2 separate regions of the Homo sapiens genome follow, and region 2 is linked to region 1. The links are contacts of gene promoters, found by promoter capture Hi-C in human tissues and cell types (Jung and others, 2019). All regions are on one chromosome and are shown on one strand. Each heading gives the region's core, a stretch centred on a gene start or on the middle of the fragment in contact. The rest is flanking DNA. Distances are from core to core; before and after follow the strand shown. Region 1 holds the start of MELK (maternal embryonic leucine zipper kinase). Region 2 has its middle 3.6 kb from the start of FBXO10.

Region 1 (2,737 bases), core at 126-2,625:
TTCCCTTCCCTTCCCCTCCCTTCCCCTCCCTTCCCCTTCCCTTCCCCTTCTCTTCCTTTCTTTCTTTTCTCTCTCTCTTTCTCTCTTTCTCTTTTTTTGAGACGGAGTCTTGCTCTGTTGCCCAGCCTGGAGTGCAGTGGCACGATCTCTACTCACTGCAACCTCTGCCTCCCAGCAGAGAGAATCAAGAGATTCTCCTGCCTCTACCTCCTGAGTAGCTGGGATTATAGGCTCGCGCCACCAAGCCCGGCTAATTTTTTGTATTTTTAGTAGAGACAGGGTTTCATCATGTTGGTCAGGCTGGTCTCGAACTCCTGACCCCAAATGATCTGCCCCCGCCCCCCCACCAAAGTGCTGGGATTATAGATGTGAGCCTTTGCACCTGGCCTAACAGTTTCTCCATACATAGTGAATTGTAGACAACTACAATTGTAAATGTGTAAAGAGACTGTAACCTTGTAACAAGTAGCGAGTCTCAGTCAATCACAGCAGCGGAGTTTTGGCCAATCACAGGTGGCCAACTGTTTAAACAGTGCTCAAAATAGTCAGAGGTTGAGTTGCAACCAATCCAGCTGTTTCCATACTTGACTGCAATTTCTGTAAGTCATTTTCCTTTTTCTGTCCATAAATGTTATTTGAACATATGGCAGCCCGAATCACTCTGAACCTATTTTGGTTCCAGGGATTACTGGATTTTGGACTCATTCTTTGGTCAATTCAACTCTGTAAAGTTTAATTTGTCTAAAGATTTTCTGGGCCGGATACAGTGGCTCACGCCTGTAATCCCAGCACTTTGGGAGGCTGAGGCGGGAGGATCGCTTGAGCCCAGGAGTTCGAGACCAGCCTGGCCAACATAGCGAGATCCCGTCTCTACCCACAAATAATTTAGCCAGGCGTGGTGGCGCGTGCCTGTAGTCTCAGCTACTGGGGTTCTTATTCCTCGTGGCAACACATTTTGGAGAGGGGGAGGTATTCCTGTCTTTGCTGGGTGGGAGAACGGCCAGTGGGCAAGGGAGGACGAAAATGAGAACTGTGACTGCCAGAGGGCACGTCAATTTTAGGAAGAGAACGTAAGAAAGTTGGGTTCTGTGGAGACTTGGCATATCCACGCCACCTGGAAAATCATCACGTGCCCTCCGGGGCAAGACCAAGGCCTCAAGTCACCCCTCGCAGCCCAGTGGACCTCCCGGCCATCCCTTTCACGGCTCCACAGCGACCGCGAGCCGTTGCCCCGGTGAGAACCCCCCGGCACTGTGCGCGCCCCCGCCTGCCGTGCGCGTCCGCTTCCCTGGGATCCGGCGCCGCGCGCGCCCCCGCCGCGTCCCCGCCCCTTCCGGCCCGGGAGATTTGATTCCCTTGGCGGGCGGAAGCGGCCACAACCCGGCGATCGAAAAGATTCTTAGGAACGCCGTACCAGCCGCGTCTCTCAGGACAGCAGGCCCCTGTCCTTCTGTCGGGCGCCGCTCAGCCGTGCCCTCCGCCCCTCAGGTCAGTTCTCCCGCCTGCCCGCCGCAGTCGCAGTTGATGGCTGGGGTCTGGGCTGTGCGGGGCGCAGCGGCCCAAACCCAGTTTGCTCCTGGCTCTCGGGAGACTGGAGGATTTCATCGGAGCCCCGCGCTTTACCAGCCCTGTTCCCTGGATAAGATATTTGACCTTTCCGACCCGCGGTTTTCTTCTCCGTAAGTGGGGATAATGACCGTGTCTACTTAACAGGGTTATTGAAGAGGTGTTCAGGCTAAGCGTTTGCCACCTAGGAGGCTGCGATAGACGTGAATTCCCATTTCCCGTTTCCAGTTTCCGTGACTCTTCCCCGCGAAAAAAGTTGACAGAAGGGTTTCGAGTTTTTTCTGTTTGTACAACTCAGTTTACTGGGGCAGTGCAATAAAAAAGGAGATGTGTTATCACTACCTTTTCAGAGTCCAAATCCATCCTCTCCTATCATCTCCCCAGAGTAGTGGCTTCAGAGGCTCACACTAAAAGGGGAATTTTTTTTCTTTTTCTTCAAGACGGAGTTTCGCTCTTGTTGCCCAGGCTGGAGTGCAATGGCGCGATCTCGGCTCACCGCAACCTCCGCCTCCCAAGTTCAAGCGATTCTTCTGCCTCAGCCTCCCGAGTAGCTGAGCTTACAGACATCCGCCACCACGCCCGGCTCATTTTTTGTATTTTTAGTAGAGACGGGGTTTCACCACGTTGGCCAGGCTGGTCTCCAGCTCGTGTCCTCAGGTGATCCGCCCGCCTTGGCCTCCCAGAGTGCTGGGATTACAGGCGTGAGCCACCACGCCCGGCCTAAAAGGGGAATTTTCACCGAATGCTGTATCAGTAATAGGAGCAGCAGGATTGCTCCCACCAAGAAACCTGGTGTAGGGTTGTGGGAGCTGGAAAGGGTAGACTCAGGGAAGGCTGCCCAAGAGAGGAATCAGGTCCCTAGCACTTAGGACGGGTAATTACCTTTGGTATTTCTCCTTTGTTAGTGGAATGAGGTGAGTATCAGGAGCCTGGATTGTTGTTTAGAGGCCAGTGTTCCTAACTTTGGTTTAAATTTTGGTTTCTGTTTCCCATGGAGTCTGGCTAGAAAATCAGAAAAATCAGAAAAGCCCTTACTGGGCCTTCGTGGGCTTGTTTCTCCCAAGGGTCTGTCCTTTCTGTGTAACTACTGTGGACCAACTAGATGGGCAGATCAATCCCAATGAGTGCCTCATTGTTGGTGCTCCCAGAAGCCTTTGCAAGGGAGCAGGGC
Region 2 (2,737 bases), core at 102-2,601, 1.0 Mb after region 1:
CAAAAATTGGCTGGGTGTGGTGGCGCGTGCCTGTAATTCCAGCTATCAGGAGGCTGAGGCAGGAGAATCGCTTGAACCTGGGAGGTGGTGGTTGCAGTGAGCAGAGATCGTGCGCCACTGCACTCCAGCCTGAGTGGCAGAGTGAGACTGTGTCTCAAAAAAAAAAAAAAAAAAGCAGTTCACTTGTAATCCCAGCTACTCAGGAGGCTGAGGCAGGAGGATCGCTTGAACCCAGGAGTTTGAGACCAACCTGGGCAACGAAGCAAGACCCTGTCTCTAAAAAAGAAAAGGAGTTGGATACAGACCTCCGGAATTTACGAGAGAATATCAGCTATAGAAACATAATTTACCAAGAATACTATGAAAAAGAAATTATTACACGAAATTGTGGCCTGAAATAATTGACCCCGTGGTCCTACTGACCTTTTTCAGTCCCTGGTTCTATAGAATATATTCCATAAAAATGTATTCCATCTATTATTACCATATGGTGAATGTGGTATGATTCTGGGTGAGGTCTAAGTTACCATGTAGCTGGTCTCTTTTATAAATAAGAAAACCAAACACTAAAACCTAAAGCCAACAATTTATTTTAAGACACAAAGTTGTACAGTAGCTAGGTATAGTAGAAAGACCACAGGGGTAGTCTCACACTGCAATGAGCCTGATGATTTACCTTGCTGACTGACAAAGCTATGCCATATTTAATCCTTTGAAAAGTATCTTACTCCATGAAACTGGCAGTCCAGATATGACTGTCAATAAACAATCAAAAGCTTGAGTTTCTGGATTTGTGCCAGCTAACATTATCATTTTGGTATTTGTATAAAACAGCTGACTTTCAAAGTGCTACAGCAGTGTCCTACAAGAGCAAGCTGTCTTCCCTATTAGTGGGGCAAGCATCACGTGCCACATGGGAATTTTTGTTTGTTTTGAGATGGGGTTTTGCTCTTGTCGCCCAGACTGGAGTGCAATGGCATGATCTTGGCTCACCGCAACCCCCACCTCCCAGGTTCAAGCGATTGTCCTGCTTCAGCCTCCCCCGTAGCTGGTATTAACAGGTACCAGCCACTAGGCCCAGCTAATTTTTGTATTTTAGTAGAGACGGGGTTTCACCATGTTGGCCAGGCTGGTCTCAAACTCCCGACCTCAGGTGATTCGCCCGCCTCAGCCTCCCAAAGCTCTGGGATTACAGGCATGAGCCACCACACCTGGCCAGGGGTTTTTTTTTTTTTTTTTTTTTTTTGAAACAGAGTCTCGCTCTGTTGCCCAGGCTGGAGTGCAGTGGCTCAGTCTCAGCTCACTGCAACCTCCACCTCCTGGGTTCAAGCGATTCTTCTGTCTCAGCCTCCCAAGTAGCTGGGACTACAGGCTTTCGCATTTTCAGTAGAGACAGGGTTTCACCATATTGATTAGTCTGGTCTCAAACTCCTGACCTCAGGTAATCCACCTGCCTCGGCCTCCCAAAGTGGTGGGATTACAGGTGTAAGCCAATGCGCCCAGCCAAAAATATAACTACTTAAATATAAGAACATCATTCACAAACTACAGTTGAGCCCTCTCTTCTTTCTGCCCTCATCTCACCTCTGCATGCCTCTATCCTACCATTAGACTCGAGAGGAAACTTACTCATCTTTATACACTGGCACCTGGCTGGTGTTTACTGGCAAATGTATAAGTGAACACACAAAATCTCCTCAGCCATGGGAGCTTTATTTACTTTGCTTTCCAGAAAAAGTAGGCTCACACAGAGTGGTGTCCCAGGTCAACATAGTGGACATGCCATGCTTTTTGGCTGCCCAGCATCTGAGGTCCCTTCCTACATTTGGGAATTCCTTGTTTATGAGTTTGCTGGGAAGCAGAACATGCCTTTCACTATAGAAGTGGAAATTCCAGGTATTTTCTCTGCTTCTCCTTGTGATTCTATCATGCTACAAATTACTCTTGATTTTGAATTAAGTACCAGAGACACAATAAAGTCTCTGGAATAATTTTCTCTGGGACCATGGCAAGTGCGGCAAGTTCTTAGAGCAACACTGGCTGCCATGATCCAGGGTTCTGTGCATGTGGCTTTGGCAAAGTAAGTGGTGGCACCTAATGTTCAGCAGAAATGGCGTCCTCACTGCCCCAGCTCTGTGGAGTATGACCAAGGAACAAAGGGTGATGTTCCAGTTGCCTACTCTCCAAGCCTAATTCTCTAGGCCTCCTGGTGATACTGAACTCCCTGTTATCCTTTTAATAAAATACTTTTCTTTTTCTGTCAAAATTGGATTTTGGTGTTTGCAACTAAAAAATCTGACTCACATAGTCACATGATAAATAGCAGAGCTGAAACTATAATCTAGGACATTGAAATCCTAATTCTAGTATTCTTTCCATGTAGACAGATCTCTACTTTCCAACAACCCACAATTTTTACATTACATATCGCTGTCCCTAAATCATTTTGTTCACCGAATTTATACTTGAATATGTAAGCTGATTAGTGAACATTTCAAGTGACTGTATTTCAAATGCAGTATTATCTTTGTACATCTGTTTATGTAATAGTTTCTTTCTTTTTTGCATTTTTGGCCTCTATATACTTAAGTGGAAATGAAAATACCCCGCACTTGAACAAACGTGGGAGTTAGGGGCCCCGACACCTGCACAGTCACAAATCTGCATGTAACTTTGACTCCCCAAAAACTTAACTACTAATAGCCTACTGTTGCACAGAAACCTTACCGATAACATA

Evidence for each region. The method cuts DNA at HindIII sites, captures the fragments that hold promoters and counts their contacts. A contact is called where the count stands out against the background at its distance.
Region 2: a contact is called between a fragment that was not itself captured here and the fragment with the promoter of MELK in region 1, in 1 of the 25 tissues and cell types used here (lymphoblastoid cells).

What each region holds. Positions count from the first base shown.
Region 1 is chr9:36,571,520-36,574,256 of GRCh38, forward strand. It overlaps MELK (maternal embryonic leucine zipper kinase), which reads left to right and starts at 1,376. Exons shown (of 18, transcript NM_014791.4): 1 at 1,376-1,488. RefSeq lists an enhancer at 95-594 and a silencer at 1,178-1,457. The HindIII fragment of the contact is 26,418 bases long and covers 1-2,737 here.
Region 2 is chr9:37,578,662-37,581,398 of GRCh38, forward strand. No RefSeq gene overlaps it. Among named protein-coding and RNA genes, the nearest start is that of FBXO10, 3.6 kb to the left of the region's middle. The HindIII fragment of the contact is 3,211 bases long and covers 1-2,737 here.